2 separate regions of the Homo sapiens genome follow, and region 1 is linked to region 2. The links are contacts of gene promoters, found by promoter capture Hi-C in blood cells and fetal thymus (Javierre and others, 2016). All regions are on one chromosome and are shown on one strand. Each heading gives the region's core, a stretch centred on a gene start or on the middle of the fragment in contact. The rest is flanking DNA. Distances are from core to core; before and after follow the strand shown.

Region 1 (6,926 bases), core at 176-2,675, 240 kb after region 2:
ACGTGGGCCTTGACTTGGGCTGCCAACCCTAGAGGCGGGCTTCATGCACTTCCTTTATATGATATAGCACCTGTTTGCAATACACAGTTAGATGTGGCTTTTATGGAGAAACTCAACTGAGCTTGGTTTCATCTGGGCTTGCCACAGCCCAGCGATTCTCTTAATTGTTTTAGAAATGATCAAAGTTGGCTGGGCACGGTGGCTCATGCCTATAATCGGAGCACTTTGGGAGGCTGAGGCGGTCAGATCACTTGAGTTCAGGAGTTCGAGACCATCCTGACCAACATGGAGAAACCCCTTGTCTACTAAAAATATAAAAAAAATTGGCTGGGCACAGTGGCTCACGCCTGTAATCCCAGCACTTTGGGAGGCCGAGGCAGGTGGATCACGAGGTCAGGAGTTCAAGATCAGCCTGGCCAAGATGGTGAAACCCCATCTCTATTAAAAATACAAAAAAATTAGCTGGGCGTGGTGGTGGGCGTCTGTAATTCCAGCTACTCAGGAGGCTGAGGCAGAGAATTGCTTGAACCCGGGAAGCAGAGGTTGCAGTGAGCTGAGATTGTGCCACTGCACTCCAGCCTCCAGCCTGGATGACACAGCAAAACTCCGTTTAAAAAAAAATAATAATTAGCTGGGTGTGATGATACATGCCTCTAATTCCAGCTACTCAGGAGGCTGAGGCAGGAGGATTGCTTGAACCTGGGAGGTGGAGGTTGCAGTGAGCCAAGATTGCGCCACTGCACTCCAGCCTGGGTGACAGAGCAAGACTCTGTCTCATAAAAAAAAATAGAAAAGAAAAGAAAAAGAAAAAGAAAAAGAAATGAGCAAAGTTATCTTCTGAGGCCTAATTAAACAATGATGCAATACATTGGAAAACCACGTTGTATCTGTTTACTTATACCCTGCTTTAATCCACAAAAATTTTCAGGCAGCTCCAAAGCCAAATAAAAGTAATTTTCCTTTTTGGGTTGCCTTCCCCAGTTGCCCAAATAATCTAGACTTTGTGGTATAATGGGTGCATATTGCTCTGGGTTTCTATTTTAAAAACCGTCTAACTTGAGATGCTTTTCTTTCTCCTCAGGTTGGTTAAATCTAGACTTAAGAGGCTCTGCTCCTCAGAAGTTGGACTTCTGAAAAATGCTGAACGAGAACAAGAATCAGAAGAAGAAATGTGACTTTGATGAGCTTCCAGTTTTTCTAGATAAACCTTTTCTTTTTTACATTGTTCTTGGTTTTGTTTCTCGATCTTTTGTTTGGAGAACAGCTGGCTAAGGATGACTCTAAGTGTACTGTTTGCATTTCCAATTTGGTTAAAGTATTTGAATTTAAATATTTTCTTTTTAGCTTTGAAAATATTTTGGGTGATACTTTCATTTTGCACATCATGCACATCATGGTATTCAGGGGCTAGAGTGATTTTTTTCCAGATTATCTAAAGTTGGATGCCCACACTATGAAAGAAATATTTGTTTTATTTGCCTTATAGATATGCTCAAGGTTACTGGGCTTGCTACTATTTGTAACTCCTTGACCATGGAATTATACTTGTTTATCTTGTTGCTGCAATGAGAAATAAATGAATGTATGTATTTTGGTGCAGACACCTGAAATCTTTGTTTTTGTTATTTAGCTACACTCCTCCTTTTTATCATGCAGAAGAAGCTGCAGGACACAGAAATTCTTTTTTGTGAGACATCTCTATAGTACCTGAGTTCTCCACAGGGAATAGTAGGCCAGAAGTCTTCCTAGGGTGTGTGATCTTTCAGAGAAGATAAAAGGGATGATCCTTAGGACACATGGTTGCAAAGCCACGAGAGACTGGGAAAGGAGAACTGGGGTGTTGTCCATAAGAGTAAAAAGTCATCACACACCATAGCATGGCCACCACAGCATCCCCTCTGTTACAGTAAGTGAAAGGTTAAAACCAGGAAAAGCCTTTTATGGAATGCTTGGGTAAAAAGTCAGAACTCTTACCTAGTCTGTGCCCTAAGTAGCCCCCCAGTGGAGAGTCAAGAAATCTTGTTTCTGATTCTGGCTCTACCATTAACCAGCTTTAGGTCTCTGGCAATCACCATGTCCTTCTCTCTAAAGTAAGGAATTGAATTGAATGAACCATGGGGCTCTTCTGGTTGTCACATTTTAAGAATCTAGAAATGGAAGCATATGGAAAGCTATTAGGTTGGTGCAAAAGTAGTTGTGGTTATTGCCATTGCAAAGCAATGTCTTTTCTTCAATGTCAACCTAATAATTTAGTACAATGTTAGTCACAAAGACCAGTATTTTCTATGAGAGAAAAGGAAGGAGGATTGCACGAATCCTTGAGGGATGACCCAAACCTGGAGGAAAGGAGGCAGCCCTGTGCACAGCTAGAGCTGAAATGTGGTCAACTAAGTCCTGAAGGCTCCCTAGCTTTCCAGAAGCACTGGCAAGTCTAGAAGGCTGCCTAGTCTCATATGTGTCACAGTGACATTGAAGAGTCAGGTGAGTAGATTCTTCAGGCCCCAGAACTGGACACATTCATTTTGTCACATAAGTTTGAAAAGAGCAGGTGTGAGTGCCTAAAGGTTTATCTTGAATAATGCCATGAACCTTAGGACGTTTCTGGCATATGAAAATGCCCACATGCCACAGTCCTTGGGGGTCATGGCATTCTGTCCCATATATGTCTTATCTCTCGGGGCTGTTTGCTAGACCCACAAAATTCTATGATTTTGACAAGTTTGGGTTTCAAAGGAGTGAGTGAGTGAGCGATCAGCAGCAGTTACATGAAGCTGGCATCACTGGTATATAGGCCTGAGCAGAAACACTGGGAATAATTAGCATGAACCAGATTAAGCCTGGAATTTTGAAAACTGATAAGTGCAAATAGTCTACAGTCTTTGTGAGAGAGCAGAAATTTCCACTCCTCTAGTCTGCACACAGATTACAAGTAAAATCAACTCAGCAAGTTCTCAAAGGAGGAATATTTGGTTCAGGTCTAAGTCTAAACTCTAGGGCTATCTGCCTCTAGTTCCTGAAATGAGCAATACATTGGAACACTATCATGACAACTTTATGGTTACATTATTGGGTTTGTAATTTGTGACTAACATTTTTATGGAATGATGTGAAAAATTAACAAACTGTGAACTTGAGCCAAAAATGAGACAGTCATATTTTCTTGTGCTAGGAAATCTTAGATCAATAAGTACAATTTTTAAAGGTTTTGATTTATAAAAAAGTATGTTTCAGTAAATGTTCTGAAACCATGAAAAATATTTTATAATAAAAATATAAAAAGTTTTCAACTCTAGATCATGGGATGAGAAAAATTAGTTTCAGGCTATACTTAACCCGTGTGTACCAATGGAATCAATCATCCAATGAATGTTTATTAAGCAGTTACCATGTGCCAAGCAGTGTTCAATAAACTAGGAATACAGTGGTATTCTACAGCAGTACTTAAGCCAAAGTCCCAGTCTTCATCAAGCTTACATTCCCATGGAACATACAGTCAATAACAAAGTCAACAAATAAGTTCTACAGTTTGAGGCAATAATAAGTTATATGAAGAAAAATAAAGCTGGGAAGGAGTATAAAGAATGGTGGGGTGCTGCTATGGTTTACATACGATTTGTTTGTCCCCTTCAAGTCTCATGTTGAAATTTGGTCATCAATGTTTGAGGTGGGGCCTAGTGGGAGGGGTTTAGGTCATAAGGGTGGATCCCTCATGAACGGCATGGTGCCATCCTCATTAGTTTGCACTCTATCAGTTCCCCAGAGAGTTTTCCTGAAAGCTGGTGTTGAAAAGGGCCAGGCACCTCCCTTCCCTCTCTTGCTTCCTTTCTCACCATGTGATCTCTGCACACGCCAGCCCCCCTTCCCCTTCCGCTGTGAGTGGAAGCAGCTTGAGCCCCTCACCAGAAGCTGATGCTGGTGCCATGCTTCTTATACAGCCTGCTGAACAGTGAGCCAAATAAACCTCTTTTATTATAAATTACCCAGCCGCATGTATTCCTTTATTGCAACGCAACAGGCTAAGACAGGTGGGGGAAAGCACCACCTTCCTGAGAGTGGTCCTTTCCTAGAGGTGCTCCACTAACCACCCGAGGGAAAATAGCCCCTGAACTTCTGCCCATCCCTCTCTATCATTATCAGGCATTATAGTGTTTATATATTTCCAGAGCCTTTAGCTCTGAAAGGAAAACCTTATCAAAGAAGGGATGGGGATGGAGGTTTACTCCCTTACTTTATATTTGTATTTTGTCTCCATTCTTCCAAAAACCTAGGATCTCAATTCCTGAGCTTTTGCCAAACTTTGAGTATCCTATGCTTCATTTGTCATAACCAAAGTGGAGAAAACCTTTACATAAATCAATGTTTGATTTCTAGTGCAGGTGTTAATGTAGGAAAGACTCAAGGACATTTTATAAAGCAGACAGAACCCTGTGGATGGAAAGCCTCTGTGGCTGTATAATAGGAAAGTGAAGGGTGGGGACAGATTATTAAGCAATATCAACTTTGGCTGTTGATGTGATACCAACTCCTTAGTGATTTCTGTAATTCTCCAATCTCCTTTGCTTGGGAATCTGCAACCTCTGATTGCACTAACTTCCAGCTCATTGTTGAAATGGGAGGCTTGGTTATGGTACACTCCTCATCGTTTCGTTTCTAGAGAATCTCATTAATCAAGGTTGATTAATTGTATCTTGGTTGTGGATTGATAAGGTGCAGCAAGAGTCAATGGATGCTATGGGAACAATAAAAATAAAAGCTGAGAACTGGGAAATTCTCCCAAAATACAAGCAAATGATAGATTAAAAGTATGAAAGAAAAGTTAATACACCTGAAGAATATATCCAGAAATTCTATATTCTGTTTCATATGCATTCCAGGTAGAGAAAATTGAGAGAATAGAGGATAGGCATGAAATAATATAAGAGAATATCCCTTAATGGCAAGGAAGAGAGATTTTTGCTTTAAGCTTGGAAGGGTGTTTCGAGAGATTTGCAGTGGATAGTGTGGATTTCTGGTAATAAAAATTTAAAAGCTTAATTATGTCTTATACTTTTAAATTCAATTTGTGAATATTGTTATTCTAAGTCTAGCAAATTTTAACACTCATTTTTAAGGAGTCTTTAATGTTTGAATATAATCTTAAATAATTAGATTTCCCTTTAAGCATTTCATATTATTTTTTTTGTGGGAGACTGGAGTTTTATTATTACTCGTATCAGTCTCCCCGAGTATTCAGGGATCAGAGTTTTTAAGGACAACTTGGTGGGCGAGGAGAAGCCACCAAGGAGTGCTGATTGGTCAGGTCAGAGGTGAAATCATAGGGAGTTGAAGCTGTCTTCTTGCACTGAGTCAGTTCCCAGATTGGGATCAGATGAGCCAGTATATCAATGTGGGTGGTGCCAGCTGATCCATCAACTGCAGGGTCTGCAAAATATCTCAAGCACTGGTCTTAGGCTTTACAATAGTGATTTTTACCCCCAGGAGCAATTTGGGGAGGGTCAGAATTTTGTAGCCTCTAGCTACATGACTCCTAAAACATAATTTCTAATTTTGTGGCTAATTTCTTAGTCCTATAAAAGCAGTCTAGTCCCCAGGCAAGAAGGGGGTTTGTTTTGGGAAAGGGCTGTTATCATCTTTGTTTCAACCTATAAACTACAAGTTCCTCCCAAAGTTAGTCGGGCCTGCAGCCAGGAATGAACAGCTTGCAGGTTAGAAGCAACTTGGAGTTGGTTATGTCAGATCTCTTTCACTGTCTCAGTTATAATTTTGCAATGGCAATTTCAATCCCAAAAAACCCTTTGGGTTTTATAACACCTCATCTTAAGGTGTTGGCTAATGAAGATAGAAAAAGGGCAAAGACCATTGTAACTTCTTCCTGTTGACCAGGGGCGTGTGGGGGTAGGTGTTGACCCCAAGGTGAAAGGAGTGGAACCACTTTGCAACTGTCAAAGCATACTCATGCAGTCCTGGCTGAGATTCCAAGGCTTGCATGATAGAGGCATTAGTATTGTCAACTATAGTTTTAGTACCACATTTAAGGAAACAGCATACTATAAGGTAAATAATGAGTACCAGAACAAGGAATGCAATTCCCAGTTTTAAAAGTAAAGATTTGAAAGCATTAGTTTGGGAACTTGTAGCCTGCCAAGAATTTAGAATTTAGGCCAAACTGCTGGAAAAACTCAAGTACAGCTAACAACAGGTATACTATAATTTTTTGAAACATACTTTTTCTCTCTCCAGTCCCTGTTTTTATTAAAAACAAATCATGGGCAAGGCGGGGTGACTCATGCCTGTAATCCTAGCACTTTGGGAGGCCGAGGTGGGCAGATCACCTTAGGTCAGGAATTCGAGACCACCCTGGCCAACATGGCGAAACCTCATCTCTACTGAAAATACAAAAATTAGCCGGGCATGGCGGCACGCACCTGTAATCCCAGCTACTTGGCAGGCTGAGGCAGGAGAATCGCTTGAACCCGGGAGGTGGAGGTTGCAGTGAGCCGAGATCACGTGACTGCACTCTAGCCTGGGTGACAGAGTGAGACTCCATCTCAAATAAAACCAAAAACCAAAAAACACACAAAAACAAATCATGATAGGACAGATGTGTTTACAAAATAAACTTTAGTCTTATTATACTTGACCTGATTATTTGCATAAAGTGCAGCAAGAATACTTATTTTCCACATAGGCTTTTAAAGTTGGCTTTGATGGAACTCTGTTCCATAAGGACTCTCAGAGAAGACTTTTTTAAAGCTGAGCCTAGCCATGGGTTTGTACTCTCAAATACTTAGAAGTTGGGTAAATTCCTCTCCTCTTGAGATACCAAGATAACTCGGGGTTTTTGAGCCTGTTAGAAAGTGACATTCTTTACTTACCACAGGTCAGGAACCCTGTACAGGGACTGCACAGACAGGGTATGAGGCCAG
Region 2 (6,899 bases), core at 4,400-6,899:
GAAAAAAATAGACCCCCACAAATAATGGGCAGTTGTTTTGAGCAAAGTTTCAAAGGCAATTCAATAGAGAAAGGATAGTCTTTTCAACATACACTGTTGGAACAACTAGATACCCATATACAAAGAAATTAATCTCAACCTATATACCTCAAACCTTATACAAAAATTAACTCAATGCATCATACAGCTAAATGTGCAATGTAAACCTATAAAACTAATAGAAAACAGGAGAAAATTTTCATGATCTTGGGTTAGGCCATAGTTCTTAGACATATGAAAAGCACAATCCATAAGAATGAATCATGTCTATTATCCCAGCACTTTGGGAGGCCGAGACGGGCAGATCACGAGGTCAGGAGTTTGAGACCAGCCTGGCCTGCAAGGTGAAACCCCCTCTCTACTAAAAATACAAAAATTAGTCGGGCTTGGTGGCGTGCGCCTGTAATCCCAGCTACTTGGGAGGCTGAGATAAGAGAATCACTTGACTCTGGGAGGCAGAGGTTGCAGTGAGCCGAGATCACCACTGCACTCCGGCCTGGGTGACAGAGAGAGACTCCATCTCAAAAAAAAAAAAAAAAAAATCTTAAATTTAAAAATTTTGCTCTGCAAAAGACACTTAATAGAAGGGAAAGACAAGCTACATACTGGGGAAAAATACTGTACTTGCAAAACATACCAACAAAGGATTTGTGTTCAGAATATATAAAGATTTTCACTACAACAATAAGAAAACAAAACAATGGGGAAAAGAAGCAATTCTTCAGAGAAAGATGGGTGGCAAATAGGCATGTGAAAAGATCATCATTAGCTGTTGGGGAAATGTAAATCAAAACCACACCAGTTAGAATGGCTAAAATTAAAAACAAAAAATGACAATACCAAGTGCTGGTGAGGATATGGAATAACTAGAACATTCATACATTGCTGGTGGGTGTACAAAATGGTACAGACACTCTAGACAACAGTTTGGCCATTTCTTGTAAATAAACATATGTTTACTATACAACCCGGCAATCCCTCTCCTAGGTATTTACCCTAGGGAAATGAAAACTTAACATCCACACAAAAGAGTTCATGGTTATAACTGCTATACTGTGCCACCTCTTTGCTGTTTGCTGTCCTGGAAACAGCAGGCGAGAGCTAGTGGCCTTCTCAGTGTTTGCTTTTCTCTTCAGGTTGCCAGCTTTACTCAGTTACCTGTCTAACCCACGTGGGTATATTAAATTGGTCTCCCAACGTTAAGTAACTTGTCCAAAGTTACATGGTGTGTCAGCAAAGTTTTGAACTCAGGTCTCCTGATTTGCAGAGAACTGCATCAGAAATTTAAAAATTCTGTGTATCTATGCATTTATGTGTATATTTAGATGCATACACACTCTTTGACTCCTCCCTGTACACAGTTCTAACCCAATATGATAATTCCCAAGTTTGATCCTTTGCTTTCTGTAGTATACTCTTTCCTTCTCCGATTGCATCTACTCATAGATTTCTTCTCTTATTCTTTGCAAATGACTGCAATTCTGATTTTCAGCCCCTAATTTCTGACTGCTGTAAGTCACTTGCGTATTGTGGTGTTACGAGGTATACACACACATACATACACACATTTTCAAGCACGGTCCCTGACTCCCATAGCCTTGTTAAGTCTTTTGTTATAATGCCAGTTGTGTTAGGCCTCAGGGGCAGGCCTCAGGAAACAGAATCTCTCTGGCCTCTCCTGCTCTCCTTTCACCTGCCCCAAGGCAGAACTCTAATCTTGCTGATTGTGGGTCTTAAATACCTCCTGAGAGCTCCTGCCCCATCCCTTGGAGGAAGGAATGCTGATAACATAAAGTTCCCATAAAGGCCAATAGAACTGGGTTTGGAGAGCTTCTAGATAGCTGACCACGTTCGTGGAGGTTCTGGAGGGCATGGAAGCTTTGTGCCCCTCCTCCCATACTTTGCCCTACACATCTCTTCCTTGTAGCCTTTGCAACATCCTTTATAATAAACCAGGAAACATGTTTCCATGAGTTCTGTGAGCTGCTCCAGCAAGTTATTCAAACCCAAAGATGGGATCATGGCAACCCCAACTTGAAAGTGGTTGGTCAGAAGTTCTGGAGTCCAAGACATATGACTGGTGCCGGTGTGTCTTCCTCAGGTAGACAGTGTTGGAATTGAATAGGAGGATACCCAGCTGGTGTCCGCTGCTTGGTGGTAGGGAGGAACCCCCTCACATTTGGTCCCAGAATTCTTCTGTGATGATGATTGTTGTGGTGGTGATGTAAGAGCAGAGGAAAAACACGGAGAGTTTTCCTGGAACACATATCCACCTCTCCCCCAAAAACTGAGCTCACGTTCCCCTAGACTCACCTCATACTATGAAGCGGCAGCTGGAGGAATGCTGATGGAAAGGAGAGACCAGTTAGGAAGTGCCTGTAGCAGTCTCCCCAAGGTGAGGAAGGCCTACCTGTGGACGGTGGTGGTGGGAACTGAAAGGAGGAATCAGGGACATTTCCTGAGAGTAAGAAGAGCCCTGTCCCTTACCAGAGGTGGGGAATGAAAGACTCGAAAGTCACTGAAGTGACTTAGGTTTTCTTGGAGGGCTGGAAAGCAGGGAGAATTAGAAAACTGGGCATAAATTGTGGTGCCTGTAAGTGCTGGGTGGAGAAGCTCTTTTGGAGGTGATACATTTAGTTTCACATAGTTGAGTTGGAACTGATGTTGAGACATGTAAATAGAGATGGCGGCAGCCGGAGATGTTGAAATAGGTCCTCTGGAGTAAAAATAAAAATCTGACTAGTAACAGCCTGGAAATGGTCATTAAGCCTGTGAGACATGGGTAGAAATGAGAATAGAGACTGAAAAGGCACACCAGATTTTTAGCTGGGCTTTCAAGATCCATTTGGCCTGGTAGTTTTGTTTTTTGGCCTATTTTCATACGTCAGATGAACAGGAACATGGAAACGAAGGCAGAGCTGCTGCAGAGAAGGGACAGTGAGGGGAGTGGTGGTGGGGAGGGCTGCACAAACTTCACCCTTCAGCCAGATTCTTCTTCCTTTGCCTCTAAATCCTTTCACATACAGGTGAGGAAAAGGTCCTGAGGGTGAGGTGATTTGCCCTAGGTATTAACATCTAATCAGTGTCAGAGCCAGAACCAGAACCCAGTGACTAGCTTTTCCATTGTGCCCAGAAAGTTCTAAAGAAAGGTTTAAAAAGCGCACTTTCATTTAGCTTTTCCTTTTCTAGGAACACCCCTAGTGCCCAAGTCAGCAGTTTCCCTGCATGTGACAGAGGGACACAGTACCCATAGGCTTTTGGTCTTGATGGCCTTCTCCTGGTCCTGCTTCTCTCTCTCTCTTTTTTTTTTTAATGGAGTCTGGCTCTGTCACCCAGGCTGGTGTGCAGTGGCACAATCTCGGCTCACCGCAACATTCGCCTCCCAGGTTCAAGTGATTCTGCTGTCTCAGCCTCCTGAGTAGCTGGGATTACAGGTGTGTGCCACCACGCCCAGCTAATTTTTGCATTTTTAGTAGAGACGGGGTTTCACCATGCTGGTCAGGCTGGTCTCGAGCTCCTGACCTCTTGATCCACCTGCCTCCACCTCCTGAAGTGCTGGGATTATGTTAATTATTAAATCTAGGAGGAGGACACAGCTGTTCCTCCACCAGGCAGTGGCGCCCGGCCTGGTCCTTCTCCTCTAATGGCTCCTTCCCAGGCTCCACAGGCCCTTCTTCTTTTGCGTGTGCCTTTCATACTCCGCTTGTGTGTTCTCATCCAAATTCAGAGCTTCCTCTTAGTTAAAACTGCTGGTGACTCCCAAGTCAATTTCCAGCCCAGACATCTTCTGAGCTTGAGGCTTTGGTCCGGTTGCCTACTGGGCATCTCCACCTGGATGCCATGGCTCATGCCTATAAGGCCAGCACTTTTTGAAGCCAAAGTGGGAGGATCACTTGAGCCTAGGAGTTTGAGACCAGCCTGGGCAACACTGTAAGAATCCACTTCTAAAAAAATGAAATAATTTGCATTTTGAACAAGCACTTCAAATAACATTTCCAGCCAGGTTTAGGACCACTATTAGTTACAATGTTAGTCCAATAAATTTGGAAATCTAGATGAATTTTTTTAACAGGTTGTAAGTGACCACAGGTTGACCCTGAAACCTCATAGGTTAATAAGCATAGCAGAAATGAAAAGGTTTTTAAAGATCTTCCTGCTACAAAGCCAAGTCCAGATAGTCTCTTAAGCTGCAGAAAGACCATAACTGCTATGTATTTCCCCCCAATTTTTTTTTATGAAAGCTTAAAATTTTAAACTTCTACAAAGTTTTAATCTAGTACCATGAACAGCTGTGTCCTCCTCCTAGATTTAATAATTAACATTTTGCCATATTTGCTTTATCTTATGTGTTTTCTTTTTGCTGACGATTTTCAAGTCAAACATTCTGATGGTTCATCCCTAATACTTCCTCATTTTCTAAGAGTAAAGAATTGTCACAAGCACAACACTATAGCACACAAAATAATTCAGAAAAGCATCAAATATCTCGTTCATATTTAAATCTCCCTAGTTGCCCCCAAAATGTTTTTATAGTGTTCTTTTACAAACCAAGATCTGTTTCAGTATAAACTATTCTGGGGCATTCCAAAAGGTGGTTAAGTTTTGGATTTTTGTTCCACAAGTCTGACAAGGCACAAAAACACAAAACACGAAAATTAAAAAGCAATCTAATAAATAAAAATGCAAAAATCATAGTCTATAGGCTGGGCGCAGCAGCTCACGCCTATAATTCCAGCACTTTGGGAGGCTAAGGCAGTAGGGTCTTGAGCTCAGGAGTTTGAGACCAGCCTGGGCAAAATAGCAAGGCCCCACCTCTATTAAAAGTAAAAAACTTAAAAAAAAAAAAAAAAGAAAGAAAGAAAGAAAAAGAAAAAAGGAAAAGAAATAGCTAGGTGTGGTGGTGTGTGCCTGTAGTCCCAGCTACTTGGGAGGCTGAGGACGGAGGATCGCTTGAGCCGGGAGGTTGAGGCTGCAATGGGCTGAGACTGCTGCACTGCACTCCTGACTGGATGACAGAGTGAGACCCTGTCTAAAACAAACAAACAAAAAAGGATATTAGCAAAGAGATGACAATGTATTCGAGGACTGACTTGTTGAGGGCATGGCGTTGAACCCTCAGCATCTTTCCCGTTGGCCTAGCAGCCTTGTAGTCAGATTTTACAGACGTCTCGCGTGCCTAAACCAACCAGGGTCATTCCGTCCCCGTCACAGAGACTTGTTCAAATAGCTCAAGCCCATCAGCATACGGTGTTAACCTGGCCACAGAGGTGATTCAACCAGCTAGAAGTTCAGTCCTTTTGCGGAGAATCAGCAAACGCTACAAATCAGGGCTTTCCTCCCTGAAAAGTCTGGTTGTTAAGACATTCACCAGCACACCACCTCGACTTAGGCCGTTCCCTTTTGCCCTTTGCCTTTCGAGGCATGCTTTTTCCGGACTGTGTTGCAATTAACCATTTCTCGTTGGTCCGTCCTGGTGTTACAGGCGCACTGGAATGAACGCAGACCCTTCTCTCCTCCCGGCCGGGGCCAGGAGGAGGGGTGGGGCGGGGCCTCTGACGCGGTCCCCGCCCCACCGTAGCGACGCCGCGGTCCGCCGGATCTCCAGCGCTCAGTCCGCGCCGCAGGTGGTGCTTGTCTGCAGAGTCATGACCTGTAAGTGGCGCGGCCGCGCGCTGCAGCTCGAGTTCGGGCCGCGGGGGAGGCTTTGGAGCGGCGCCGGCGGTGGCTCGGCCGGCTCAGCCCCTCCGCCCCGCGTCCCCGCCGTGCGCGGCCTTCCCTGAGGCGGGCGTCCGCGTGGGTCCGGGATCGCGTGGCCGGGCGGCCGGGCGCACTCCCGGGATTCCAGGCTTCCGGGGTGGCGGGCGAGGCCCAGAAAGCACCAGGCCACCCGGCCGCGCCGGCACCCGCCGCGTCCTGCTTGACAGAGGCTGATGGACGTGTATTTCTCCACGGTGTGGGCCGCGGTGGTAGGATCCAACTCCCTTGGGTGTTTTCAAGTTGCGTGACCTCCTCCAGCCCCGCCCTGCACAAAGGTGCCCAGGCGGTTCTTCGTCTCCCCACTCACTTTCCAGCTCCAGATTTTGACTTGGATTCTTGCTGTGTCACTTACTTTGTTCAGTGACTTTGTGCAGCTTTCCCCCTGCAAGTCCCCTGTTTCTTTATTTGTAAAATGATGTTAATGATACCTCACACAATGATGTTAATGTGTGAAGGACCTGGCACATTGCTTTAAATGTTATTCCTTTGTTGTTTCCTTCGCTCACAGTATTTTATTCTTTTTTTCCGCCCCTTGGTAAGGTCTTCGTTGTTAGATTATGATGAATATTAGGGCAGCCTTAAAAGTCTTCACTTTACAGATGAGATGGAGTGACGGGCGTCTCCTCCTCAGCATGAGGAACTGCCCAGTGGCGGGGTTTCCCTGCTGCAGCATGTCTGTAGAGTGGGTCATTTGCAGAATGATAGGCAGTCCTAAGCTTAGTTGAGGACCCCGCCCTTGTGGGTGAGATGTGTAGGAGAGGAAGCCATCAGCGTAGCCATGGTGAGCTTTATCTTTCCCACCCTCGGAAGCACAGACATGGCCCGGCACGTGGCTCACGCCTGTAATCCCAACAGTTTGGGAAGCTGAGGCACGAGGATCGCTTGAGTTCACGAGTCAAGAGTTGGAGACCAGCCTGGGCAACATGGCGACACCTTGTCTGTACTAAAAAATACAAAATTAGCCCGGTGTGGTGGCACGCCCCTTTAGTCCCAAACTACTTGGGAAGCTGAGGAGGGAGAATGGCTTAACGCTGGGAAATGGAGGGGAGACGTTTAGTGGATTTATCTGCTGTTCTGATAACAGCTCAAAATATCTGTTTGCC

What was found. Contacts are between HindIII fragments. The CHiCAGO score rates a contact against its expected background, and 5 or more counts as called.
Region 1: a contact is called between a fragment that was not itself captured here and the fragment with the promoter of NIT2 in region 2, in 1 of 17 cell types (naive CD4 T cells). The highest score is 5.1, in naive CD4 T cells.

What each region holds. Positions count from the first base shown.
Region 1 is chr3:100,575,844-100,582,769 of GRCh38, forward strand. It overlaps TMEM45A (transmembrane protein 45A), which reads left to right. Exons shown (of 6, transcript NM_018004.3): 6 at 1,082-1,601. The coding sequence ends at 1,175. Among named protein-coding and RNA genes, the nearest start is that of ADGRG7, 30 kb to the right of the region's middle. The HindIII fragment of the contact is 4,084 bases long and covers 1-3,467 here.
Region 2 is chr3:100,329,108-100,336,006 of GRCh38, forward strand. NIT2 (nitrilase family member 2) reads left to right here and starts at 5,650. Exons shown (of 10, transcript NM_020202.5): 1 at 5,650-5,691. The coding sequence starts at 5,685. RefSeq lists enhancers at 5,418-5,986, 6,080-6,129, 6,150-6,209, 6,330-6,409 and silencers at 5,650-5,979, 6,378-6,672. The HindIII fragment of the contact is 2,232 bases long and covers 4,279-6,510 here.